Regions from separate parts of the Homo sapiens genome. Here regions 1, 3 and 4 are each linked to region 2. Evidence: promoter capture Hi-C in 16 types of primary human blood cells and fetal thymus (Javierre and others, 2016). All regions are on one chromosome and are shown on one strand. The core of a region is centred on a gene start or on the middle of the fragment in contact, and the rest is flanking DNA. Distances in the headings are between cores, read along the strand shown. Region 1 overlaps LOC124904628 (a long non-coding RNA gene). Region 2 holds the start of PNPLA6 (patatin like domain 6, lysophospholipase). Region 3 overlaps INSR (insulin receptor). Region 4 overlaps LOC124904625 (a long non-coding RNA gene).

Region 1 (6,627 bases), core at 1,681-4,180, 270 kb before region 2:
CCTCAGGTGGGCCTTGGCCTCTCAAAGTGCTGGGATTACAGGCAAGAGTCATCACGCCTGGCCTTTCATATGGATTTGAGTTACTGTCTAGTGTTCTTTCATTTCATCCTGAAGGATTCCCTTCATTTCCTCTATTGTAGTAAAATACACATAACATAAACTTTACCATTTAAAGCATACCATTTAAAGTATACAATTCAGTGACATTTAGTACATTTACAATGTTGTGCAACCATCCCTACTACCTAGTTCCAGAACATTCTCATCTCCCCAAAAGGACACCCCATAGTTATTTATTTATTTATTTATTTATTTATTTATTTATTTATTTATTTTGAGACGGAGTCTCACTCTGTCGCCCAGGCTGGAGGGCAGTGGTGCAATCTCGGCTCACTGCAAGCTCCGCCTCCCGGGTTCATGCCATTCTCCTGCCTCAGCCTCCTGAGTAGCTGGGACTACAGGTGCCTGCCACCATGCCTGGCTAATTTTTTGTATTTTTGGTAGAGACGGGGTTTCACCGTGTTAGCCAGGAAGGTCTTGATCTCCTGACCTCATGATCCACCCGCCTCGGCCTCCCAAAGTGCTGGGATTACAGGCATGAGCCACTGCGCCCGGCCTATTTATTTATTTTTGTTTTTGTTGAGAGAGGGTCTTCTTCTGTCACCCAGGGTGACTGCAGTGGCACAATCATGGTTGAGTGCAGCCTCAGCCTCCTGGGCTCAAGCAATCTTCCCACCTCTGCCTCCTGAGTAGCTGGGGACGTGGGCATGTGCCACCGTGGTCAGCTAATTTTCAAATGTTTTGTAGAGATGGGGCCTTGCTATGTTGCCTAGGCTGGTCTCAGACTCCTGGCCTCAAGTAATCTTCCTCCCCTGGCCTCCCAAGGTACTGGGATTACAGACGTGAGCCACCATGCCCAGCCCCCCATACTTACTAAGCAGTCACTCCACATTCCTGCCTTCCTGCAGCCTTGGAAAACCCTAATCTGTTTTGGCCTCCCAAAGTGCTGGGATTACAGACGTGAGCCACTGTGCCCGGCTAACAAATTGTTTTCTGCCCATGCATTTATGTATTGTATGTGACGCATTTGTGCTAGAATAGCAGAGTTGCAGCAGAGAGCCCTCGAGGCCCAAAAATATTTACTATTTGGCCCTTTTCAAATGTTTGCCAACCTTTGGTCTAGAAGGTTACATTCTGGAGCAAACAGATCATAGACAGATAAAGAAAGGCAGATGCTAAAATCAGCCGGGCGTGGTGGCAGGCACCTGTAGCCCCAGCTACTCGGGAGGCTGAGGCAGGAGAATGGTGTGAACCCGGGAGGTGGAGGTTGCAGTGAGCCGAGATCGCGCTACTGCACTCCACTGGGCGATAGAGCAAGACTCCGTCTCAAAAAAAAAAAAAAAAAAAAAGAAAGAAAGAAAAGCAGATCCTGAATCTGGTCCCCTCCACTCACCCGCGCTTCCCAGTTATGAAAGGCAACACAATCTCCACATCTTCTTTCTTGGGTTTTGGGTTGGTTTGAGTTGGGGCCACGAAGGGAAGTGAAAATGATGTGGTCCTCATTGCTTTCACAGTTTCAAACCCAACTCCAGTGTTTATCAGCTGATGGGCTGTGGGCAGGTGACTCATCTCTGAGCCACTATGCTCATAGGTAAAATGAGAATGAGGGCGGCTGTGTTACCGGATTCTTTGAGGTCATATCCAAAAAACACATAGCACAAAATAAATGCTCATGAGATGCAGAGGCCAGGTGTGGTGGCTTATGCCTGTGATCCCAGCACTTTGTTTTTCTGTTTGTTTTGTTTTGAGACAGAGTCTTGCTCTGTCACCCAGGCTGGGTGCAGTGGCAAGATCTCGGCTCACTGCAAACTCCACCTCCCAGGTTCAAGCGATTCTGCTGCCTCAGGCTCCCAAGTAGCTGGGATTACGGGCTCCCGCCACCAAGCCCGGCTAATTTTTGTATTTTTAGTAGAGATGGGATTTTGCCATGTTGGCCAGGCTGGTCTCGAACTCCTGACCTCGGGTGATCCACCTGCCTCGGCCTCCCAATGTGCTGGGATTACAGGCGTGAGCCGCTGCACCCGGCCACTGTAATCCCAGCACGTTGGGAGGCCAAGGTGGGAGGATCGCTTGAGTCCAGGAGTTCCAGACCAGCCCAGGAAACATAGTGAGACCCTGTCTTTACAGACAAAAAATTAGCTGGGTGTGGTGCCGTGAGCCTGTGGTCCCAGCTGCTCAGGAGCCTGAGGCAGGAGAATCCCTCAAGCCCAGCAGGTTGAGGCTGCAGTGAGCTGAGACTGCCAAAGATTGCGCCACTGCACTCCAGCCCAGGTGACAAAGCGAGACTCGGTCTCAAGAAAAAAAAAAAAGAAAAGATACAAAAAAAAACAAGAATAAACCCTATTGAATTGGAGGTACTGAGGTGAATTCATGGTTTTCAAAATATAAAGATAAATATAGAAATAAGTTTGTGTGTGTGTGTGTGTGTGTGTGTGTGTGTGTGTGTTCCCATTTATCTACTAAGAGGACCTGGGAGCCACATACCCCAGTAACAATGGGCACACTTAACACCCAGATCATTTCTAACTGCCAATCTCCACCTAGCCCAGGGCTTTTTGGAAAAATGAGAGCAGCCTGGGCAACATAGCAAGACCCATTTCTACAAAAAATTTAAAAATTAGCCAGGCGTGGTGGCGTGCTCCTGTAGTCCTAGTTACTTGGGAGGCTGAGGCAGGGTTGGGGGGGACAAAAGCCTAGAACATCTAGTTAGGCCAGGAAGGAAGAAAAAACGATCAGCAAAAAACCAATAGGAATATGTCAAAAGGACCCAGAAGCCAGAGAGAAAAGCTTTCACTGGCCAAATTAAAGATAATTTAAGCATCGAAGGGGAAAAAAAAGAACGTCAGCAAAATGGCAGAGTAAAATTTGCCTTTCTACAAAAGCAATGAAAAAAACTGGCAAAATTTGACAGAATCAACATTTTCACAACTCTGGAAATTAACCAAAAGCTTACAGTAATTTGCAGAGCATTTAATTAAAAAAAAAAACACATAAAAAAACAGCAAGCTCTGTAGAATTTTAACTCACTCTAGTCTTATTCCTGGCTCTCCAGCTCAGAGGGTAGCCTTGAAAAATAACAGCCCACAATCTTGATACCATACGGAAAAGAACAGAGGTGCGGCTCCTTCAAAACCTCATTCAGGATCATTCAAGAAGAGGTGTGTGTGTGTGTGTGTGTGTGTGTGTGTGTGTGTGTGTGTGTGTGTGTTTGAGACAGAGTCTCGCTCTGTCGCCCAGGCTGGAGTGCAGTGGCGTGATCTCGGCTCACTGCAACCTCCTTCTCCTGGGTTCAAGCGATTCTCCTGCCTCAGCCTCCGGAGTAGCTGCGATTACAGGTGCCCGCCACCATGCCTGACTCATTTTTGTGTTTTCAGCAGGGACAGGGTTTCACCATGTTGACCAGGCTAGTCTCAAACTGCTTACCTCAAGTGATCCACCCACCTCGGCCTCCCAAAGTGCCGGGATTACAAGCGTGAGCCGCCGCACCCAGCCAAGAAGAGTCATTTATTGACCTATTTATTGGTACTCTGGAAGACCCTGCTCTGAAAGACCTGACCTCACTTGAACTTGCCGGATGCTAAACATTTCTCCCCAGGGGCTATTTGTTAAATGTTTTAACATTGCAGCTGCCTGTGGCAATACTTAACAGTTGGGGAAATAATAGCCTAACTAAAAATCTTAGAAGGAAAAGCGCCAGGCGCGGTGGTTCACGCCTGTAATCCCAGCACTTTGGGAGGTCGAGGCGGGAGGATCACTTGAGGTCAGGAGATCGAGACCATCCTGGCTAACACGGTGAAACCCCGTCTCTACTGAAAATACAAAAAATTAGCCGGGTGTGGTGGCGGGCGCCTGTAGTCCAAGCCAGGAGAATGGTGTGAACCCAGGAGGCGGAGCTGGCAGTGAGCCGAGATCGCGCCACTGCACTCCAGCCTGAGCCACAGAGCGAGACTCCGTCTCAAAAAAAAAAAAAAAAAAAATCTTAGAAGGAAAAATGAAGACATTAGATGTTCGGAGGGACTTTTGAAAAATTCTGACATATTTCTGGGGATATGGAAGGCCACATGCTTAGGAAAGACCTGAGACAGCCCTAAGCTCACACCGCTGGCCGACTTCGAGGCTCTGTGTAAGCAGGAAGTGAGAGCTAAAGCACAGTTGTAAATTTCCTGGGTGAATGTTGAAGGTGTGTCCCTAATAAGTACACAGAGCTCCCTGGCAAAGACTGGCAGACTTCCGATTCCAGACATTCAAGGAAATCTCTGTCCAACCACTAGCTAACCATGAAGCTAACTGAGCAAAGACTTCAGTAGCCATGACAGAGAATATAGACTTTACAGAAGTAGTTTAGAAAAGTCATTTAACAGGCCTGGCACAGTGGCTCATGCCTGTAATCCCAGCACTTTGGGAGGCTGAGACAGGTGGATCACCTGAGGTCAGGAGTTCGAAACCAGCCTGACCAACATGGTGAAACCCTGTCTCTACTAAAAATACAAAAATTAGCCAGGTGTGGTGGGGTGTGCCTGTAATCCCAGCTACTCAAGAGGCTGAGGCAGGAGAATCGCTTGAACCCAGGAGGCAGAGGTTGCAGTAAGCCGAGATCACGCCATTGCACTCCAGCCTGGGCGACAGAGCGAGACTCCACCTCAAAAAAAACTATTTTTATAGTGACAGGGTCTCACTATGTTGCCCAGGCTGAGCTTGAGCCCCTGGGCTCAAGTGATCCACTGACTTTAGCTTTCCAAAGTGTTGGGATTACAGGCATGAGCCATCACACTCGGCCAGCTGTTGGCATTTAGAATAGTCTTTCTAGCAAGACCAATATTCCAGGACCATAAAAGCTGACTGAATATCTGTTCTAGGATGAGGGATAGGCTCCAGGGATTCCTTTCTTCCCTGGAAGGTTGACTCTTGTGTGTTGGGGAGTGGGGCAGGGGGGTGGGCTGGGGCCAAGGGCCAGGGAGGACAATTTGGTCCTGACTCTCTTATTTGGGGTCTTTATGGATCTGCTCTAACACCAGCCAGTTAGAGCCAGGAGACTGCAAGCTGGGACCTGTGCATTGATCAGGTATGCCTGAGGCCAATGGTGAAGGGAGGATGGACCCTTTGAATCCAGTTATTTGGCTCTCTGGGCTCCTGCCCTGAGGTTCCCTCCAGCCCTGCTGCCCCAGCATCTAAGCCTGGAGTACCAGGGGCTCGAGGGCATGCGTGAGCCATGGACAGGATCCTGGGGAAGTTCCAGCTTAACCTGGGGGCCTCTTCCTTCTGCCCCAGCCACAGCCGGTACTTACTCAGCTCCACCCCCAGGAAGAGACTCCTGGGCTTCTCCTGTCCACCTGTGCTTCCATTGTACATTTGTCACTACAACCTGGAAGAGGCTCTGCCGTTGAGGTTGTCAGTCAGCCTGGAAGTCAATCCTGTCAGTTCGTCTCTGTTGCTGTTCAGTGAGTCAGAGATCTCCACTTGATCATCAGTAAGTTAGACTAGATCTGTCTGTGGATCTTCCAAATTGCCACTTAACCCAGCTCAGCAAGCAGTTAGGCCACCAGGTACGCATTTCGACTTCCATCCCCCACCTGGGAGTCTTTCTCAGCTAGTTACTCTTTGAGCTAGGATGCATGATGGCCTGCAAAGATATCCAAGTCCTGGCCAGGCATGGTGGCTCACATGTGTAATCCCAGCAGTTTGGGAGGCTGAGGCGGGCGGATCACCTGAGGTCGGGAGTTCGAGACCGGCCTGACCAAGATGGTGAAACTCTGTCTCTACTAAAAATACAAAGTTAGCCAGGTGTGGTGGTGCATGTCTGTAATCCCAGCTACTCAGGAGGCTGAGACAGGAGAATCACTTGAACCTGGGAGGTGGAGGTTGCAGTGAGTTGAGATCATGCCATTGCACTCCAACCTGGGCAACAAGAGTGAAACTCCTTCTCAAAAAAAAAAAAAAAAAAGATATCCAAGTCCTAATCCCTGGATCCTATGAATGTCACCTTATATGGCAAAAAGAGACTTTGCAGATATGATTGCGATTTTAAGATAGAAAGATATTGTGTGCTAAATAATCTGTCTAGTCACTACCTCTGGTTCCTGGCAGGGGGCGTCTAAACTCTTGGAATTTTCCAAGTAATAGAAGTGTCTTAATGGCCAACAAACATATGGAAAAATGCTCAACATCACTAATGATCAGGGAGATGCAAATCAAAACCACAATGTGATACCACCTTACTCCTGCAAGAATGGCCATAATCAAAGACTCAAAAAATAATAGATGTTGGTGTGGATGTGGCAAACAGGGAACACTTTTACACTGCTGGTGGGAATGTAAACTAGTACAACCACTATGGAAAACAGCGTGGAGATTCCTTAAAGAACTAAAAGTAAAACTACCATTTGAGCCAGCAATCCCACTACTGGGTATCTATCCAGAGGAAAAGAAGTCATGATACAAAAAAGATACTTGTTCACACATGTTTATAGCAGCACAATTCGCAAGTGCAAAAACGTGGAACAAACCTAAATTTCCATCAGTCAACGAATGGGTGAAGAAACTGTGGCATACATATAAAATGGAATACTA
Region 2 (7,246 bases), core at 4,587-7,086:
GGCTGGGGAACAGACGCAGGGGCTGGATCTCCTGGGGGCAGAGAACAGCTTGTGGCCTGTCCTGGGAGGGAGACCTCGCCCCCATCCCCCCTGTGCTCGCTCCCCGCCACCCACTCACGTGGCTGAAGAGCTCATTGGTCAGACCCAGGTAGTTGTGCAGTGCCAGGAAGGTGACTCGCTGCAGCCGCACCATGATGATCTGCAGGGCTCGAGGGGCGTGGCCATAAGATGGGGCGGGGTAAGGGGCAGGGCCAGATGGTGGGCCGGGCTAGTTCGCAGCATAAGGGGTCGGGCGGGAACCAGGGAGAGACCCACAGTCTGGGGAAATGGGGCGAGGCAGCTAAGGGAGGAGTCCGCGGCTGCAGACATCTGGCTGCTCCAGGCCGATAACCACAGCTCCAGCGCCTGCTGGCTGCTGGGCCTCGGTCCCTTGGAGCCTGGAATGGGTGGGGGCCAGGGTGGGGTCCCTCAGGGGGTGACAGGAGGCGAAGGCCCACTGACCTGCACGACCCGCACCAAGCTCTCCGGGTACTTGGTGAAGACCGCGGAGAATGCTTCCACCGGCAGGCGCAGCACCGTGGAGTCCCGGGCCGCCCGGGCAGACACGGTCCGCTGGGGATGCTGGTGACCCTGGGGGAGGGGAGGGCGTGAAGAGAGACAAGGGCAGAGGCTGCGAGTCCCCCTCGCTACTCCCCTAATCCTTCCTGGCGCCAGTCCCGTGAGGGGCCATCGGCAGCATAACGGATGAACCAGAGATTGGGGACCCTGTGATTTCCTTCAACCTAGTCCCTTGGGTGGGACCTTGCACCCCAGCCCCCCTGCCTCAGAAACTGGTCACTCACGGTGATGACATCCAGGATGCTGAGAAGGCTGTTGACGCTGTCCCCAGGAACCACTTCCTTCACCACACACTCCTTCCCGTCCTGAGACACAGGAGACCGTGGACCCTCAGTGGCCTCGCCCTGGTGACTGGCATGTCGCCCCCTCATCCATCCCAATGATCACTGACACTTCTCATCCCTTCTCAGGGGAACCCACCAACCCTTCCAACGAGCAGGCATCTCCCATCGTTCAATACTTGTAACTACTGAGCAACTACGCAGACTACCCCAAATGTCCTCGGTCACCCGTTCCCCTGACTCCCGATGACGCATCTCCAAAGACCACCAGCTCTACAGACCAATGCCTGCTGCCCATCCCCACCACCCATCCTCCTGCAGCAGCCCCTGGGGAGGCCCACTCACAGGCCCTGGCAGACAGAGCTCCAGCAGCCCGTCCTGCACCACGTAGATGCTGGCATCTGGCTGGCCCGGCCGGAAGACGTAGTCACCCTGGCCCAGCCGCTGGAAGACCATGTGGCGGCAGAGCTCCAGGAAGAGTGGCTTCTCGAAGTGGCCCAGCACCCTGTTGGACAGGCGGTGGGCGACAGAGGCTGGAGGTCAGGGCGGCCCCACGTCTGCAGCCCTCCACCCCCACCTGCACCCCAACACTGACCGGACGTTCTTGAGCATATAAAGCACTTCAGAGGGCAGATGGGAGTTAGCCAGGTCGCCCTCGGTCAGGTCAGCTTCTAGCACTGCGGGCGGGGGCTCCTTCCGCTGCAGCGTGGGCGTCTCTTTCTGGATGCGCAGGATCCTGGTGGGAGGGGAGGGGTGCCGGGGGTGAGGGGGGCACGGAGAAGGCTCAGGCAAACCTAAGACCCCCGCATACCCCTTTCCCCAGGGCTCATGTACAGCAAACTCTGGCCCGCTGGCCAAATCAGGCTGGCCACCTTTTTTTTTTTTTTTTTTTTTTTGAGACGAAGTTTTGCTCTTGTTTCCCAGGCTGGAGTGCAATGGTGCGATCTCGGCTCACTGCAACCTCCACCTCCAGGGTTCAAGCGATTCTCCTGCCTCAGCCTCCCTAGTAGCTGGGATTACAGGCATGTGCCACCACGCCCAGCTAATTTTGCATTTTTAGTAGAGATGGGGTTTCTCCATGTTGGGCAGGCTGGTCTCGAACTCCTGACCTCAGGTGATCCGCCCGACTCGGCCTCCCAAAGGCTGGGATTAAAGGTGTGAGCCACTGTGCCCTGCCTCAGGAGTCTCGCTCTTTTACCCAGGCTGGAGTGCAGTGGCGAAATCTCGGCCCACTGCAACCTCCACCTCCCAGGCTAAAGCGATTCTCCTGCCTCGGCCTCCCAAGTAGCTGGGACTACAGGTGGGTGCCACCACGCCCAGCTAATTTTTTGTATTTTTAGTAGAGATGAGGTTTCCCCATGTTGGCCAGGCTGGTCTCAAACTCCTGAACTCAAGTGATCCTCCCGCCTCAGCCTCCCAAAGTGCTAGGATTACAGGCGTGAGCCACTGCACCCGGCTGGCCACATTTATTTTGGTAAATAAAGTTTTATTGGTACAAAGCCACATTCATGTATTTGCATATCATTATGGCTGCTCCCATGCAGCAGAGTTGAAGAGTTGCAATGGGGACCATATGTGGCCAGCAAAGCCTGAAACATTTACTATCTGGCCCTTTATGGAAAAACCCTATGACCCCAGACCTAAAGTTCTCTGAGATGGCCCCTCCACTAGGCATAGGCCCCTGAGCTGAACCCTTTAGGAAGGCAGACCCCTGACATAGCTTCCAAGATAAGGGTAGGCCCAGAAATGGTACCTGTGTTTATCATGGGGGTCCTGAAACGGTCCTTCCAGTAGTCACAGAGTAGATTCCTGAGATAGTCCCCTTAACGTGAGTATGCCTTTGACATAGCTTCCAATATATGAGAAGACCGCAGATACAGTCTCTCTGTTCTACATAAACATTCCTGAGATAGACCTTCCTCCCAGTCTCAGAGAACCTTGAGACAGCCCCTCTGACAGCCACAGAGGTCCCTGAAGTAGCCCTCATTATAAGTGGAGAATCCAGATAGCCCCTCTGCTAATCGTGGACCTGGGAGAGCCCTTCCCCACAAGTCACAGTGATTGCTGAGAAAGACCCTCCGCTGGCAAAAGATCCCTGAGATAGACCTTGGAGGATGGGACCCTGAGTTAAACTCAGTGAAATCAAGAAATTCAGATATAATTCCTTTTTTGGCTGGGCGTGGTGGCTCATGCCTGTAATACCAGCACTTTGGGAGGCCGAGGTGGGAGGATTGCTTGAGGCCAGGAGTTCAAGACTAGCCCAGGCAACACAGTGAGACTCCCATCTCTACAAAAAAATTTAAAAATTAGCCAGGCATGGTGGTGCATGCCCATGGTCTCAGCTACTTAAGAGGCTGAGGCAGGAGAGATCTCTTGAGCCCAGGAGGTAAAGGCTGCAGTGAGCTGTGATTGTGCCACTGCACTCTAGCCTCAACAACAAAGTGTGATCCTGTCTCCAAAATAATAATAATAATTATAATTGTTATGATTATTCCTTTTTTGATCAGGGAGATCTTGGGCTAACTCTTCCCTAGGTCACAGAAAGCTCAGACAGCCCTCTGACAATCATGAAGATATCAGGGTAGTCCCTTAAGAGTGTGCAAACACTACAGACAGCTCCTGTGATGTGGAGAAACCTGAGGTATAGACCCTCAACTGATCATGGGGAACTTTGAGATAGTCCTTCTACTCAACTCACAGAAAGCCCTGCCATTGGCCGGGCTCAGTCGCTCATGCCTGTAATCCCAGCACTTTAGGAGGCCGAGGCGGACGGATCACAAGGTCAAGAGATCGAGACCATCCTGGCCAACATGGTGAAACCCCGTCTCTACTAAAAATGCAAAAATTAGCTGGGCATGGTGGTATGAGCCTGTAGTCCCAGCTACTCGGGAGGCTGAGGCAGGAGAATCTTTTGAACCGAGGAGGTGGAGGTTGCAGTGAGCCGAGATCGTGCCAGTGCACTCTAGCCTAGTGACAGAGCAAGACTCCATCTCAAAAACAAACAAACAAACAAACAAAAAAGAAAGGACTGCCATTGCAGGACTATTGATCATGGAGAGCCCTGCCCTGGTGTGAAGAAACCCTTGAGGCAGACCTCCAGGTAGACTACATGACGCACAGGGATCCCAGAGCCAGCACCCAACTTGCAAAGAGAGTTGGAGAGCCTTTCTCGCAGACCTTGCTGCCAACAGGGATCTCTGATGCATCCTTCCTATATTTCTAGTGCAAGAAAATTCATAAGATAGCCCCTAGGGAACAGAAACTCCTGAGACAGCCTCCTTAGTGTGGGAAGAACTTCAAGGTCCATAACATAGGAAAGATGCCTTCTGATGTACAGAGATGCCTGAGATAACCCCCGGAGAAGAGAGGCTGGAGGCTGGAGATAGCCCCTTTAGGAGATCGTAGAAACACAATTACCTCAGTGAGGTACCCTGGAAGAAAACCACTCATGTGAAGAGACTCATGAAATAACCTACATGGAAACCCCTGATGTAGACCCCCCCACTAAGTATATGGCAAGACCTCTGAGATATTGACTTGGGAACAAATAGCTCAGATACTCCAGTGGAAGGAGAAGGTCACTGAGGTAGCCCTCAGGGAAGAGATACCCTAGAGACAGCATGTCTGGTGTGGAAGAGCTCTGAGAGGAGAGTCCAGAGATGTCTCTCTGAAACAGGAAGACTTTCTTCTTCTTCTTCTTCTTTTTTTTTTTTTTTTTTTTTTTTTTGAGACAGAGTCTCACTCTATTGCCCAGGCTGGAGTGCAGTGGCATGATCTCAGCTCACTGCAACCTCCACCTCCCAGATTCAAGTGATTCTCCTGTCTCACCCTTCTGAGTAGCTGGGATTACAGGCCCATGCCACCACGCCCAGCTAATTTTTGTATTTTTAGTACAGATGAGGTTTGCCATGTTGGCCAGGCTGGCCTCAAACTCCTGATCTCAGGTGATCTGCCCGCCTTAGCCTCCCAAAGTGCTGGGAATTACAGGCATGAGCCACAGCGCGCAGCCAATATGGGAAGACTTCCACAACACTTTGGTGTAAGCTGATTACTCAAAAGGCCCCTGAGATAACCCCTAATACCAGGTCACACCCAGCACAGCCTTACTTCTTGGCAATGTTGAGCATCTTCAGTTTCTTCCTCATGCGTGGCCGGGAGGTGGCGGAGACAGAGGTATCCACGAGGGAGGAGGTGGATTGTGACACCTGGGAGAATGAAGGCGGAGATGGGTGAATTGCTAATTCAGACCTTGGAGAAGAGGCAGACGGATCCAGGGGGTCTCCATCAAGGAAGGAGCGGTGGCGGACACTAAGAAGTGTAAATAGGGAAGGGGCGCGGCCTCTGTGTGGTCAGGGCGGACCCCAGGGGTCCCGGACTCACCTTCCGCATAATCTTCCGGCCATAGAAGAGCACTTTGTCCCTCTTCCGGAACCGATACCGGGGGCCATCCGGGGCTGGGGTTTCTGGGGATAGGTGGGGACAGGGGCACTCCGAGCTCTGTGCAGACTCCACCCTGCCAGAGCTGGGGTACCGCGAACAGACGCCAGCAAATCCCCATCTCTGCCGCCTCGGGACCCGGGCATTTGGGCCCCCCACCATACAGCCTCCCAAGAGGGGCCCCTCGGGTGCTCACTTGGCACTCGCAGCCTCCGCACCACCAGGAGGATGAGCACGGCCGTGACCACCACCGCCACTCCGGCCCCGATCATCACGCCAAGCACCTGAGGGACGAACGGCACTGGCTGCGCACCGCAAATCCGTCCCGCCGAGCCTTCCCCGGGCGCCAGGACGTCCTGGAACCCATCCCTCTCCGCCACCTTCGCCCCCGAGGAGTTCGTAGCCAGCCCGTGACTCGATGTCCCCATCTGCAGAATGGGCCAGTGCTGCTCCCTCCCCGGGGGCGCGACTCTTCCCTGAGGCCCGGCGGCCCGCAGTGCATGCCGGGAAACGTAGTTCCGCCCGAGCGGACGCAGCGCGTTATCGCCAGACCACGTAATGCGCGCTGAGCACGCCGGGAGTTGTAGTCCTCTTGGCGCCCCACGCCGGCACCTACCCGGTCTCCGCCCCACCCCTTACCATTCCAGTTTGCAGCGGAGCCTCCATCGGTTGATTCCAGCTGGACGGCCGATCTGGTAGCCCGGAGTCCTGGGAAATCAAGGAGTCGAAGGAACCCGTGCAAGTCGTCAATCTGGGCCCACCTCTCCCCTGCCTCAAGCCCTGCCCCCAGCTCAAGCCCTGCCCTCTGGGGTGGCGGGGGAAGCGTCTCCAGCTGCCAGGGGCGAGGCTAGAGGGGCGCTGCGGGACTAAGGGATGGAGCAAACCGACCTCTCGGCCCTGGCCAGGAGATGAGGCGGGTCCCCGGCTTCCTGCTCCCTTCGCCTACGCGTAGGGCCTACCAGACGCCCGCCTGTCCAACCCCACCCCGGGGCCAAAGGCCGACCTGGTACCCACTGTCAGCAGCCTGCAGGCAGGTCCCCACAGGGCACGGTCCTCTGCACCTGGTGACTTCCTCCCGGGTCACTGCCCTCTGCAGGGTTGATCAAGCCTGACCACCCCACCCCCCAGGCCGCACCCCCTACTCCGTCGAAGACTGAATGCCCCACCCCAGGAAAACGGGCCCGCAAACCGTGGGGTCCGGGAGTGGGCACCTAGATACTCGGCTCCCGACGCAAGCCTGCCCCGGGGAAGACCCAGGAGCTGGGAGGCACGGGAGTACTGCCGGGGCATCCGCGGAAGGCGTCTGATACCCACGTTTCAGAAGAGTCCTGGGATGCTTGGGGTGGCGTGGGCTTGCAAGGCGCTGCTGGTTTTTGCCGGGGATTTACTATCACGTAGTAGTGAAGTTATGGGGGCTCTATGGCACAGAGCATCACTGGGACTCCGGGACCGATGGTGGCGCCATTGCTGGGAGGCGTAACCAGAGACGCTGGGATTAGTGGGTGGGGATGCGGGGTCACTGGAAAGTTACTGAGATTCTGAGGATTACAATACTACTGCTGGGAAAACCAGGAGGTGGGTGGGCACATTCCTGGGGTGCTTATGAGAGCGGGCCTGGGGAGGGCGTCCGGGCTCCTTGGAAGATACTGAGAGATGCTGGAATATTACTGGGATTTTTCTGGGAAGCTGAGGATGTTTCTGACATCGCTAGAATATTAATGGAAATTCGGGGGCCGGGAGATAGGAATCCCGGAGACTCCGAGTCGTTACTTGGAAAATTCCTGGGTGGCCGGTCCTCTTCCACCTCAGGGCACAGCTGGCTACCGGTGTGGAAACACCTGCCGAGACGTGGGGGGTATGGGAACATCAGAAAGTCTAGAGTTAACAGGAATCGGAGGACAGATCGTGGG
Region 3 (7,321 bases), core at 4,595-7,094, 390 kb after region 2:
AAAAAAAAAAAAAAACAGTTTAAAAATTAGTCAGGCATGGTAATGCATGTCTGAACTCCTAGCCCATGGGGAGGCTGAGAAAGAAGGATCACAAGAGGCCAGGAGATGGAGGCTACGATAAGCGATGATGGCGCCACTGCGCTCCAGCCTGGGTGACAGAGTGAGACCCTGTCTCTAAAAAAAAATTAAAAGTATCTGTTCAGATGTTTACCAATGCTATTCATCCGAGCAGACTTTTCTCCCAGAACCACCAGTGTGTAAGAATCCTCTTTTTTTTTTTTCTTTTCTTTTTCTTTTTTTGTTGCATGTTTCCCCTATGACCCTGAGTCCAAAAGAATGTTCAGGGGGACAGCCAAGGCTTCAAAGTGGTTACTGTTTCACCTGTTACAAACAAAATGTTGGCTAGGCACAGTGGCTCACTCGTGTAATCCCAGCACTTTGGGAGGCCGAAGTGGGAGAATCAGTTGAGGCCAAAGGTGGAGACCAGCCTGAGCAACAGAGTGAGACCCTATCTCTACTAAAAAAGGAAAAAAAAAAAAAAAATAGCCAGACATGTTGGTGCATGCCTTGTAGTCCCAGCTACTCCGGAGGCTGAGGCGGGAGAATTGCTGGAGCACAGGAGTTGGAGGCTGCTGTGAGCTATGATGGCACCATTGCACTCCAGCCTGGGCAACAGAGCAAGACCCTGTCTCAAAAAGGAAGGAAGGGAAAAAAAGAAAGAAAGAAAGGAATGGAGGGAGGGAGGGAAAGAGGAAGGAAGGAAGAGAGAAAGAAAAAGAAAGAAAGAAAGAAAGAAAGAAAGAAAGAAAGAAAGAAAGAAAGAGAAAGAAAGAAAGGAAAGAGAGAAAGAAAGGACAGAGAAAGGAAGGGGGCAAGGGAGGGAGAGAGGAGGGAAGGAAGGAAGGAAAAAAGGAAAAGAAAGAAAAGAAAGAGAAAGAAAATGAAAAAAAGAAGGAAGGAAAGAGAAAGAAAGCAAATGAAGGAAGGAAAGAGGGAAAAAGAGAGAAAGAAAGTAAAAGAGGAAAGAAGGAAGGAAGGAGAGAGAGGGAGAGAGAAAAGAGAAAGAGAAAAGAAAAGGAGAAAGAGGAAAGAAACCAGAAAGAGAGAGAGAAAGAAGAAAGAAGGGAAAGAAAAGAAAAATTCTGCCAGACTTGGAGAAGTGGCTGAGTCAGTTGTGATGTCCACATGTAGTCACGTTTGACATCCCAGGGCCACCTCAGCAGGCCGTCTCTGGGGAGAATTTTCTCTGATTTCTTCCCCTTCCCTTGCTGGACCCCTGCACCTGCTGGGGAAGATGTAGCTCACTCCGTCTAGCAAGTGATGGGAGCGAGTGGTCCAGGGTCAAAGCCAGGGTGCCCTTACTCGGACACATGTGGCCTCCAAGTGTCAGAGCCCAGTGGTCTGTCTAATGAAGTTCCCTCTGTCCTCAAAGGCGTTGGTTTTGTTTCCACAGAAAAACCTCTTCAGGCACTGGTGCCGAGGACCCTAGGTATGACTCACCTGTGCGACCCCTGGTGCCTGCTCCGCGCAGGGCCGGCGGCGTGCCAGGCAGATGCCTCGGAGAACCCAGGGGTTTCTGTGGCTTTTTGCATGCGGCGGGCAGCTGTGCTGGAGAGCAGATGCTTCACCAATTCAGAAATCCAATGCCTTCACTCTGAAATGAAATCTGGGCATGAATGTGGGGAGAAACCTTCACTAACACACTCTTGCTAAAACATAGAATCATGGGAGTGCTTCCTGGGTACCCCCTCCCTGCCTTCTGTTTGCAGCCACTGTTTGCTCACTAAACATCTCTGCACCTCCCGCGTGCATTTGCAGAGGTGGGTGGGGGTCCCCGGAGTCTGAGCTCCCCGCGGCTGGGTGCCCCGACCCAGCAGCTCCTACACCATGAATGGAGGTTGATCTGGAAACAGAATATTTTCATGAAAGGGCGACAGGGTATGAACAAAAGAACACCGTGTCGCTCACTGAATTCCACGGAGGAGAGTCAGGGATCTCTTCCTTCCTTCCTTCCTTCCTTCCTTCCTTCCTTCCTTCCTTCCTTCCTTCTTTCTTTTTTTCCTTCTTTCTTTCTTTCCTTCTTTCTTTTCTTTTCTTTATTCCCTCCCTCTCTCCCTCCGTCCGTCCCTCCCTCCCTTCCTTCTTTCCTTCTTCTTTTTTTTTTGGATGGAATTTCACTCTTGTTGCCCAGGCTAGAGTGCAGTGGTGCGATCTCGGCTCTCCACAACCTCCACCTCCCGGGTTCAAGCAATTCTCCTGCCTCAGCCTCCTGAGTAGCTGGGATTACAGGCATGCGCCACCACGCCCGGCTAATTTTTGTACTTTTAGTAGAGACAGGGTTTCTCCATGTTGGTCAGGCTGGTCTCGATCTCCCGACCTCAGGCGATCCGCCCGCCTCGGCCTCCCAAAGTGCTGGAATTACAGGCGTGAGCCACCGCCCCTGGCCAGGGACGTTTCTTTTCAACTTGAGTCTTAAGAGAATGAAGCAGTATGGTCCTGGGAGAGAGAAAAAGCTTGGAGAACTTGGGAGAAAGGCAAGGAGATGTTTACCTGTCGTGGCTTTTGGGAGGAACAGGAGGTGAGACTAAAGAGGCAAGTTGGGACCACTTGGAGAGATTTTCTTCCTTTAGCAGAGTGTTTATTTATTTATTTTTTCCCAGGCACCTGTGTGGCCTGATCTGCCCTCTAGTGGCCATTTGCAATACTAACTGTAGCCAAGAAGGGTCTAAAAATGTACGGGCTTGGTCCAAAGCAGATCTCAATCTCAGTCCTGCTATTAATAATATTCGGGTGGCTCACGCCTGTAATCCCAGCACTTTGGGAGGCCGAGGCGGGCGGATCATGAGATCAGAAGATCGAGACCATCCTGGCTAACACGGTGAAACCCCGTCACTACTAAAAATACAAGAAATTAGCTGGGCGTGGTGACGCAGCTACCCCAGGCGGGGCAATCACTTGAGGCCAGGAGTTCGAGACCAGCCTGACCAAGATGGTGAAACCCCGTTACTACAAGAAACATAAAAATTAGCCGGGCGTGGTGACACACGCCTGTAGTCCCAGCTACTCGGGAGGCTGAGGCAGGAGAATGGCGTGAACCTGGGACGCGGAGCTTGCAGTGAGCCAAGATCGTGCCACTGCACTCCAGCCTGGGCCACAGAGCGAGACTCCGTCTCAAAAAAAATAAAAATAAAATAATATTTGGGGCCACAGCTGGACTTGGTAGCTCACGCCTGTAATCCCAACACTTTGAGAGGCCCAGGCGGGGCAATCACTTGAGGCCAGGAGTTCGAGACCAGCCTGACCAAGATGGTGAAACCCCGTTACTACAAGAAATATAAAAATTAGCCGGGCATGGTGACACACGCCTGTAGTCCCAGCTACTTGGGAGGCCGAGGCAGGAGAATCACTTGATTTCTGGAGGCGGAGGTTGCGGTGAGCCGAGATCTCGCCACTGCATTCCAGCCTGGGTGACAGAGCGAGACTCTGTCTCAAAAAAAAAAAAAAAAAAGAATAAATACATAATACTAATAATAATAATAAATAATATTTGGGGTCAGATTATTCTAGGGCACTGTCCAACAACACTGAGAAGCATCCCTGGCTTCCACTCATCTGATGCCAGTAGTGTGTCTTCCCCCTAAAGTAGTAATAACCAAAAATATCTTCAGACATTGCTAAATATCCCCCTGGGTGATGGGGTCAGAAGGACCCTTGGTTGAGATGACCAGGTTAGTGTGGGATTGCTGGATAATAAAATGCTGCCTAGGCCAGGTGCTGTGGCTCATGCCTGATGCCTGTAATCCCAGCACTTTGGGAGGCCCAGGCAGGCAGATCACCTGAGGTCAAGAGTTTGAAACCAGCCTGGGCAACATGGCGAAACCCCGTCTCTACTAAAAATACAAAAATTAGCCGGGCATGATGATGCACGCCTGTAATCCCAGCTACTTGGGAGGCTGAGGCAGGAGAATCGCTTGAACCCAGAAATTGGAAGTTACAGTGAGCCAAGATCACACCACTGCACTCCAGCCTGGGCAACAGAGCAAGACTCTGTCTCAAAAAAAAAAATCAGTTGATGCTTTGTCTTTTGCCACTTCATGGTCTTTTTGGTTATAATCTTTTTGGTATATAAACTCATTTGGCCTGTTTGATGAGCCCATTTTACATCTCTGGTTGTTGAGATACCAATTTCTCAGTAGTTACTCATGAAGCACCAACGTCTTGGTTATTTTCACGAGACCCATTTGTGCCTGTATAGAAATTATCTGAATCTTGCTAATACGGACATATCTTTGGCTTGATAAGTGGTGGAGCTGTTTTCTTTTCCATTCTACAATGTTGTTAGTCTTTTAATACAAAAAGACCATAAAGAGAATCTTAAGAAATGCCCCCAAAGTAGGATTTGTTTTCTGACCACACATTTTCTGATGACGCTGCAATAGAAACTAAAAGTTAATTTCAAAAGATTAAACAGAAAACTTCACTTCTTGGTGGTTAAAAGTTAAACACTTACAGGCTGGGCGCAGTGACTCACACCTGTAATCGCAGCACTTTGGGAGGCCCAGGCAGGCGGATCACCTGAGGTCAGGAGTTTGAGACCAGCCTGGCCAATATGGTGAAACCCCTTCTCTACTAAAAATACAAAAATTAGCCAGATGTGGTAACGTGCGCCTGTAGTCCCAGCTACTCAGGAGACTGAGGCAGAAGAATCACTTGAACCTGGGAGGTGGAGGTTGCAGTGAGCCGAGATCACGCCACTGCCCTCCAGCCTGGGCAACAGAGCGAGACTCTGTCTAAAAAAAAAAAAAGTTAAAAAGTTAAACACTTACATATCTATCGGGCCAAAGCAGAAATGGAAACTTCCATTGAAGTCCTTTTGGAAAATAATGAAAATGTGAATATCACATACCTTAACTTGTAGAATATTGTCAAAGCTTGGCTTTGATGTTACTTAGCAGACTTAAATGGATTGATAAATTAAGAAATAAACTTTAAACTATAAAACTATAAATGTGTTAGGAAGGGAAAAGCAATAACAGCTAAGCCTATGGTAAACATAATCAAAGGGAAAACACAAACCAGAAGGAAAGAAGATGACATAAAACTAGCGTCTGAAGAAAATTTTAATGTGTTAAGTTCTTTGGACAATGGTGCACTTGCTAAATTTGAAAGTTTCAGTAAGGTGGGAAAATTTAACTTGTCTAAATGGATTCAAAAAGAAGCAGAAAAATTAAGTGGTTATGAACCTTGGAAAAAGATATGTGTCAAATAATTTCCTCAAAAAAGTCCCTTGGCCCAGAGAGTTTTATAGACACGTTCTTTCAAATTGTGAGAGAGCAACTATTTCCTATAATAGAAAAACTATTTTAGGGCACAGAAATCTATAAAAGTTATCCCAGTTCATTTTATGAAATGAACATAACACCCTTAAAGAACTTGACAAAGAGGTTGAGCATGGTGGCTCATGCCTGTAATCCCAGTACTTTGGGAGGCTGAGGTGGGGGGCGGATCACAAGGTCAAGAGATTGAGAACATTCTGGTCAACATGGTGAAACACTGTCTCTACTAACAATACAAAAATTAGCCAGACATGGTGGCACACGCCTGTAATCCCAGCTACTTGGGAGGCTGAGCCAGGAGAATCGCTTGAACCTGGGAGGCAGAGGTTGCAGTGAACCGAGGTTGCGCCATTGCACACTCCAGCCTGGCAACAGAGCAAAACTCTGTCTCAAAAAAAAAAAAAAAAAAAAAAGAACTTGACAAAGATACTGCACTGAACAAAAGCCACAGGCCAAGCTAATATGTGATGTTAGATTCAAATGTCCCAAATAAAACACTGCACTGGCAATATTGTTTATCTCCAAAATGCAAGGATGGTTTAAGATCAGAAGATTTGATAACATCATCTAGTTCATCAAGAGGTGCAATAAGGAAGATCATATCTGTTTCAATAACCTTAATTTAAAATTCCTAACTTAGAGAAAGGGGAGGAAAAAAAGAGGCTTCATAAAACTCATAATAGAATATTTCTTCTACAAGATAAATATTACCTAGGTTAAACCAACAGCCAAGCTAACATCATTCTTAAAATTATTCTTAGCAGAGTTAGGAACAAAACAAGGAAGCCCCATCTCATCATTACTAATTAACATTTCTCTGGGCATCCAGCCAATGTAATAAGACAAGAAACAGAAATCAGAGTTGTAAAGAATGGAATGTGGGAAATAAAGTCATTGCTATTTGCAGAGCGTCTAGCTCAAGGGTAGGCAAACTATGGCCCATGGGCTAGCTGCCTGTTTTTGTAAATGAACTCTTATTGGAATGCAACCCCACCCACTTGTTTACACATCATGTAGGGCTGCTTTAAGCTACAATGACAGAGTAGTTGTGACAGAGGTCATTTGGCTTGCAAAACCCAAAATATTTATTATCTAGCCCTTTACGGGAAAATTTTGTTGACCCCTCTTCTAGTGTGTCATTGAAAACCCAGGAAAGCCAATTATGAAACTTTTTAAATGAGTTAGAGTTTGGGAAAGTAGGTACATAGAAATAAGCAAAAAGACTGTAGATACACAAGCAATAATTAGAATATAAAATAAGGGAAAAGATCCCTTTCAAAATTGCCGTAAAACCTTAGCACAACTCATAATAACCCCATCTAGAATGACTTATAAAGGAACACGTTTTAAAGTGTTACTGATATATTAAATTGTACAAATAAACATGAAAGCCTGTTTCAAATCATTTAAAGAAAGCTTACTGGCAAATGGAAAAGAGTAAGTTGTATAGCACGATACATAAAAGGTTAATATCCTTAATGAATAAACAACACAGGAGTAAGGAAAACACAAGAAATTCATGGAAAAACAGACAAAAGACAAGGAGGGGACAATTCTTTGGAGAATCACAGAGAACCAATAAAGGAAAAATGAAGTCACACTCAGTAATATAAAGATCCGCAAATAACGTAGTCGAGTGATAGCATATTTTTAATCTCTTGGGTTAAAGATCTAGACAAACAAACATAGAAAGAAAAAAAAAAACTATTAAGGCTTAGGGGTTGCTGAGATTGTCCTGGAATGCAGTCTCATGGCCTGCTGGTGCAACCACAAGTCAATATAGAGTTTCTGGACAACCATTTAGCTGTAGGTATTAAGAAGCTTAAAGAGTTTCTTATCTCCCTGAACCTAGTAATATTTTCCTCTAGGAATCTACTTTGGGGAAGTAATAAGACAATCAGACAATGATCAAAGGAATATTTATAACAGCAAAAAAAAAAAAAAAGAGCCATGTGCGGTGGCTCATGCCTGTAATCCTGGCACTT
Region 4 (6,877 bases), core at 353-2,852, 440 kb after region 2:
TACAGGAATTAGGGAAGGGTAAGGAAGAGGAGTTGGTCAACAGGAAGCAGGTGGTCAGTTAGGCAATCATGATGGGTGATGGGTCTGATGTCTCACTGTACAAATGCAGTATTCTGGTGCGTTTCAGCTCCTAGATACTATCTGGGAGGCCTGATGGTTGGTTTCCTGAGAAAGGAACTCAGATAAGATAAATGTAACTTTCTTAAGTTTTAAGATTGGGAAGATCAATTTGTTTGTTTATTCAAGGAAACCATAAACATCAGCAATATGGGAAAATTGGGCCAGTTTCACTTTCAGGTATTTAAAAGAAAAATCTATTGGATTTTGGATATCAATTCTTGTCCTTCACTTGGCGCTAAGTTCATGTCCCTACATAAGATACAAAGGGGGCCGGGCGCGGTGGCTCCCGCCTGTAATCCTAGCACTTTGGGAGGCCGAGGTGGGCGGATCACAAGGTCAAGAATTCAAGACCAGCCTGGCCAACATAGTGAAACCCCATCTCTACTAAAAATACAAAAATTAGCCGGGTGTGCTGGCGTGTGCCTGTAGTCCCAGCTACTCGGGAGGCTGAAGCAGGAGAGTCGCTTGAATCCAGGAGGCGGAGGTTGTAGTGAGCAGAGATGGCACCATTGCACTCCAGCCTGTGTGACAGAGTGAGACTCCATCTCAAAAAAAAAAAAAAAAAAAAAGAGATACAAAGGAAGCTACTGTTGGGATAATGTCATTTGGTCGTATTCCCATCAGAAACCTTAAGCTTTGGCCACAACCAGGACTCTTCATATAAAATGGTGATGGTGGTGGTGGGGAACCAGGGAAAAAGCGGAAAAAATTAAAGATTTTTTAAAAAACCCAAACCCAAAGCATAGCTGTCTTCTATTCCTGCTTTGGGACCTGGTCTTCAGGACTGAATTTAATTCTTCCACATCCATTCCACATTCTGCTTTCTCTCTGCCAGTCCCTTATCTGAATGGATTTTTATTTTTATTTTTTTTTGGGATGGAGTCTCACTCTGTCGCCCAGGCTGGAGTGCAGCGGCGCGATCTCGGCTCACTGAAAGCTCTGCCTCCCGGGTTCACGCCATTCTCCTGCCTCAGCCTCCTGAGTAGCTGGGACTACAGGCGCCCGCCACCACGCCCGGCTAATTTTTTGTATTTTTAGTACAGACAGGGTTTCACTGTGTTAGCCAGGATGGTCTCGATCTCCTGAGACCGGCCCTGAATGGATTCTTTACCCTGATAGAGTGATCTTATCTCGGATCAGGTTTTCTGGGAACAGATTTTGTGCTGGCAATTTTTTGTTTATTGGATAAAACTCCTGGGAACAACATCTTTAAAGGCATGCGAGAAGCGGAGGGGACAGATGAGGCTGACATGTAACTTGTCAACTGAGGCTGCCGTCGATCCCACAGGGAGTTCTGGTGCTGGGGTTGCCCTTCAGGGGTGTCCTACATTGAAACAAAGGCACTGGACCTTTGTACCCCCTACATCAACCAGTCACTGGAAGTAGGCAACCCCTGGAGAGAGAGCATAATCTTGGGTTGGGCACTTTCCTCTGGGCCTTGGGGAGTTCCCAGAGAGGACAGCAGCATCACCATCATCAGGCAACACCTCCAGCAGCTAGGGGAGTGCCTTAGTCTTTTCTTTTTTCTAGATGGAGTCTTGCTTTGTCACCAGGCTGGCGTGCAGTGGCAAGATCTTGGCTCACTGCAACCTCCGCCTCCCAGGTTCAAGCGATTCTCCAGCCTCAGCCTCCTGAGTAGCTGGGACTACAGGCACACGCCACCACGCCCAGCTAATTTTTTTTTTTTTTTTTGAGATGGAGTCTTTGTCGCCCAGGCTGGAGTGCAGTGGCGCCATCTCGGCTCACTGCAAGCTCCGCCTTCCAGGTTCACGCCACTCTCCTGCCTCAGCCTCTCGAGTAGCTGGGACTACAGGTGCCCGCCACCATGCCTGGCTAATTTTTTGTATTTTTAGTAGAGATGGGGTTTCACCGTGTTAGCCAGGATGGTCTCTATCTCCTGACCTCGTGATCCGCCGGCCTTGGCCTCCCAAAGTGCTGGGATTACAGGTACGCCCAGCTAATTTTTGTAGTTTTAGTAGAGACGGGGTTGCACCATGTTGGCCAGGATGGTCTTGATCTCTTGACCTCGTGATCCACCTGCCTCAGCCTCCCAAAGTGTTGGGATTACAGGCGTGAGTCACCACGCCTGGCCTTAGTGCCTTAGTCTTAAAGGAAGAATCTGGGAAATATGCCACTGAAACCATGCCTAAAGTGTTAAAGCAAAGACTAGCAGAAATTCTTGATGTGTTGGAAGCTGGTTCCTTCTGGTGGGTTCGTGGTCTCGCTGACTTCAAGAAAGAAGCCACAGACCTTCACTCTTAAAGATGGCACAGACCCAAAGAGTGAGCGGTAGCAAGGATTACTGTGAAGAGCAAAAGAACAAAGCTTCCACAGCTTGGAAGGGGACCCGAGCTGGTTGCCGCTGCTGGCTGGAGTGGCCAGCGTTTATTCCCTTATTGACCCCTCCCATGTTCTGTTTCTGTCCTATCAGAGTGCCCTTTTTTCAATCCTCCCTGCAATTGGCTGCTTTCAGGATCTTGCTGATTGGTGTGTTTTACAGACTGTTGATTGGTGCATTTTACAATCTTCTTGCTAGCTACAGAGCGCTCACTGGTGCGGTTTACAATCCTAGCTACAGAGTGCTGATTGGTGTGTTTTACAATCCTCTTGTAAAACAGGAAAGTTCTCCAAGTCCCCACTCGACCCAGGAAGTCCAGCTGGCTTCACCTCTCATTGAGTTTGCAGGATGGCAGGTAAAAAAAGAAATAACTTGCTAAAACGCTGAAACTGCCTCCACTTGTAACAAAACTGCCTAAAATCTGTGAGAACCCACATGGCCAAATGGAGTTTGTGCAGAATGAGCTTGCTGATGTCACAGTGCAAATTTCCACGTGTTTCATACAAACTCCCTTGAGTTAGTATGACTTTGCACATGGAACCCATGGGGAGGCATGAAGAGATCATTGCACCTGCCTGAGGACTTAACAGACCTTTCCTCCCACCAATCGCCTGCTAATCCCAGAATCCACGCCCTACACCTTTTCTAAGAAAATTATTGCCTTAAAGTCAGCATAAGACAAATTTGAGCTGGACTCCTGTCTCCTTGTTAACTTGCAATACAAACCTTTCCTTTTCTCAAAAATCTGATGTCATAGTATTGGCTTCTAGCACATTGGGTGAAGAGCTCTTTTGCTGGGTAGTGCCACCACTGTACCTACTGTGGTCCACCATGTGTGCCACTCAGATGCCCTGCATTCATTTTGTTTGTTTTGTTTTTGAGACAGAGTCTCCCTCTGTTGCCCAGGCTGGAGTGCAGTGGTACCATCTTGGCTCACTGCAACCTCTGCCTCCTGAGTTCAAGTGATTCTCCTGCCTCAGCCTCTGGAGTAGCTGGGACTATAGGCATGTGCCACCATACTCAGCTATTTTTTGTATTTTTAGTAGAAATGAGGTTTCACCATGTTGGCTAAGCTGGTCTCGAACTCCTAACCTCAAGTGATCTGCCCGCCTCTGCCTCCCAAAGTGTTGGGATTACAGGCGTGAGCCACTGTGCCCGGCCCCAGGATTCTTAAAGTAAGTGCCCTCAGGATCCAGGTTGGTCCCGTTGCCTGGAGAAACTGACAAGAGGAAGATCAGTGGGACAAACTGTAGACAGCCCTTTCCACCTGAACAAGTCTCAGAGATGCAATTGATGCTTATCACACTCCTTTACTTGCACCTTCCAGATTCCCTTTACCCTTGACTAGGGTGAAAATTCTAGATTTCCTTCTCACCTAGATCCTGCTGGTCTAGGTGGCTTACCTGGAGAGCTGCTCCAGATCCTTATGCCTACGGGGTCTTCACCATGCCCTTCTCAGGACATAGCTGGTGAAATTTTTTTATCTTTTTCTTTTTTGGAGACAGAGTCTCGCTCTGTTGCCCAGGCTGGAGTGCAGTGGCGCGATCTCGGCTCACTGCAAGCTCCGCCTCCTGGGTTCACGCCATTCTCCTGCGTCAGCCTCCCAAGTAGCTGGGACTACAGGCGCCTGCCAACGCGCCCAGTTAATTTTTTTGTATTTTTTGTAGAGACAGGGTTTCACCATGTTAGCCAGGCTGGTCTCGATCTCCTGACCTTGTGATGTGCCCACCTCGGCCTCCCAAAGTGCTGGGATTACAAGCGTGACCCACCACGCCTGGCCAAAATTTTTTTATCTTTAAAATTGGGGAAAGAATAGTAAGAGACATCCCAATGGATTCCGTGAATGCCAAATGTTTTCCTCCCTGCACTCATCATGTAACAGCAGCCTCAGATTCTATGGATGATAGCATTAATTACCTAAGTCAGTATGGTGACTTCTTTCCTTGTGTGCTGGTCTCATAGAAGTCACAGTTTAACATCCGATGAGACTCTTACTGTGTCTCTTGGTGGAAGTGTTTCCCTCTGGGAACCAAGTCCTTTAGGTTACTTCTCTTTTTTCTTTTTTTTTAGATGAAGTCTTACTCTGTCACCCAGGCTAGAGTGCAGTGGCATGATCTCGGCTCACTGCAATCTCCGCCTCCCGGGTTCAAGAGATTCTCCTGCCTCAGCCTCCTGAGTAGCTGGGATTACAGGCGCCCACCACTGTGCCTGGCTAATTTTGTATTTTTAGTAGAGACGGGGTTTCACCATGTTGGCCAGGCTGGTCTCAAACTCCTGACCTCGTGATCCACCGACCTCGGCCTCCCAAAGTGCTGGGATTACAGGGGTAAGCCACTGCGCCTGGCCAGGTTAATTATTTCTTTTGCTTTCCTCCCCAATGGCTCTGTTCCTCATCCTATACAGGAAACACTGGTGTTGGCAACTATGTTAGGCTTCATCGGGGAGTATCAGTGCATGGACACCACCCCAGGGTAGCTGAGCAACTGATAGAATTCCTGGGCTTGGATATGAACTTTCCATCCAGGTGATGGGCATGAGTAGATTCTGAGAAGCAAAAGGAGTGACCAATACTGGGTATCTTCCATTCGCCCCAGCAGATTCACCTCCTCTACCCTGCTGTACTTGGGATGATTAGTTACTATGAATGCTATCAACGAACTCCCTTACCTTATTGGCTTTTGGTTGAGTTTGGCAAATGGGGAACCCAAATATGATATAAGAAGAATGAAGGACAAGGAGGGCTGGCCCTGGCTATTTCTTTCTCTTTTTTGGTGGTGGTGGGGGGGTGGGGATGGAGTTTCACTCTGTCACCCAGGCTGGAGTGCAATGGCATGATCTTGGCTCATTGCAACCTCCACCTACCGGGTTCAAGCAATTCTCCTGCCTCAGCCTCCTGAATAGCTGGGACTACAGGCGCATGCCACCACACCCGGCTAGTTTTTGTATTTTCAGTAGAGAATGGGTTTCATCATGTTGGCCAGGCTGGTCTTGAACTCCTGATCTCAAGTGATCCACCCACCTCGGCCTCCCAAAGTGCCAGAATTATAGGTGTGAGCCACTGTGCCTGGCCGACCCTTACTATTTCTTGCAGAACTCGAGGCTGGATGTTGCCCCTCACTGACCTCCTGTCAGCTCCTGGAATGCAGCCCTCTCCTCGCTTGAACAACAACTTGCAGTTCTCTTCCTTTGTCCCTTCAGGCTTATGGGTGTCCTACGATCTGCCATTTGTTTGGAAGCTGGAGAACCAAGAAAGCTGGTAGTCTTGCTCCAGTCCAAGCTCAAAGACCTGAAAACAGGGGAGCCAACAGTGTAAACCCCAGTGTGAAGTCCAAAGGCTTGAGAACCAGGAGGGCCAATGGTGTAAGTTGCGAGTCTGAGTCTGAAGGCTGGAGAACCAGAAGCACCCGTATCTGAGGTGGGGAGAAGACCGATGTTCCATTTCAAGTACCTTTTGTGGTTTCCCTACATCCTGTTCACAATTCTGTGAGGAGCCCCTTGATATAAACTGCGCTTGAATCATCCCAGTTGACGTGTGTGTCAACTGTTTCCTGCTGGGACTCTTGATATTCCAACTTCCTGAACATGTAAGGAAAAGCCCTAACAATGACCTATAAAACCCCACAAGATCAGGATCTGCATCTCCGATTACCCTCTAATCCCTGAATCCCTATTTTACCTGAGTCATACTGGCCTCTGTGCTGTGGGTCTTTGCATGCCAACAGTCCTCTTGCCACAAGTTCCTACTCAATAGTCTCTCCTCAAATGCACCTTAACTGGGGGCCTTTTCCTTCCTATGCTACATAAAATGGAAAGTCCCCAGCCCTCCGTAACTCTCTCACAATGCTTTATTTTTCTGCACAACATGAATATTGTTGATTTTTCTTTTTCGATGGAGTCTTGCTCTGTTGCCCAGGCTGGAGTGCAGTGGCGCGATCTCGGCTCATTGCAACCTCCACCTCCCAGGATGAAGCGATTCTCCTGCCTCAGCCTCCTGATTAGCTGAGCGCACCACCACACCCAGCTAATTTTTTTGTATTTTTAGTAGAGATGGCGTTTCACCATGTTGGTCAGGCCGGTCTCAAACTCCTGACCTCATGATCTGCCCCAGCCTCCCAAAGTATTGGAATTACAGGCGTGAGTCACAGCGCCCGGCCATGTTGTTGATTTTTCTATAATTCACCCCTCCCCGTTAGGATGTAAGTGCCTCAATGGCAAAACTTGAGTTTCATTCACTGCTCTAGACATGGCATCTCAAACAGTGCTTAGCCACATGGAATGTACTCAATGAACAGGCTAGTGGTTATGAGAATCACCTGTCTGGATTCCAATCTGTGCTCTACCACTTACTAGCTGGTGAACTCAGGCAAGCAACCTAGACATTTCCATGCCAGTTTTCCCATCTGTAAGTTGGAGACAGTA

What was found. The method cuts DNA at HindIII sites, captures the fragments that hold promoters and counts their contacts. A CHiCAGO score of 5 or more calls a contact.
Region 1: a fragment that was not itself captured here is called in contact with the fragment with the promoter of PNPLA6 in region 2 in 1 of 17 cell types (M1 macrophages); the score reaches 5.2 in M1 macrophages.
Region 3: a contact is called between a fragment that was not itself captured here and the fragment with the promoter of PNPLA6 in region 2, in 1 of 17 cell types (M1 macrophages). The highest score is 5.9, in M1 macrophages.
Region 4: a fragment that was not itself captured here is called in contact with the fragment with the promoter of PNPLA6 in region 2 in 1 of 17 cell types (naive CD8 T cells); the score reaches 5.4 in naive CD8 T cells.

Annotation. Positions count from the first base shown.
Region 1 is chr19:7,802,712-7,809,338 of GRCh38, reverse strand. All of the region lies in intron 1 of LOC124904628 (a long non-coding RNA gene), which reads right to left. Among named protein-coding and RNA genes, the nearest start is that of EVI5L, 24 kb to the left of the region's middle. The HindIII fragment of the contact is 161 bases long and covers 2,850-3,010 here.
Region 2 is chr19:7,534,307-7,541,552 of GRCh38, reverse strand. PNPLA6 (patatin like domain 6, lysophospholipase) reads right to left here and starts at 5,836. Exons shown (of 32, transcript NM_001166114.2): 1 at 5,533-5,836; 2 at 5,280-5,362; 3 at 5,007-5,104; 4 at 1,495-1,635; 5 at 1,245-1,404; 6 at 843-923; 7 at 502-630; 8 at 119-199; 9 at 1-31. The coding sequence starts at 5,764. RefSeq lists an enhancer at 5,762-6,001. The HindIII fragment of the contact is 24,808 bases long and covers 1-7,246 here.
Region 3 is chr19:7,144,665-7,151,985 of GRCh38, reverse strand. INSR (insulin receptor) reads left to right here. Exons shown (of 22, transcript NM_000208.4): 11 at 1,454-1,489. Among named protein-coding and RNA genes, the nearest start is that of ZNF557, 79 kb to the right of the region's middle. The HindIII fragment of the contact is 1,821 bases long and covers 4,934-6,754 here.
Region 4 is chr19:7,088,231-7,095,107 of GRCh38, reverse strand. It overlaps LOC124904625 (a long non-coding RNA gene), which reads left to right. Exons shown (of 3, transcript XR_007067110.1): 2 at 2,657-2,813; 3 at 5,657-6,877. Among named protein-coding and RNA genes, the nearest start is that of ZNF557, 22 kb to the right of the region's middle. The HindIII fragment of the contact is 1,691 bases long and covers 757-2,447 here.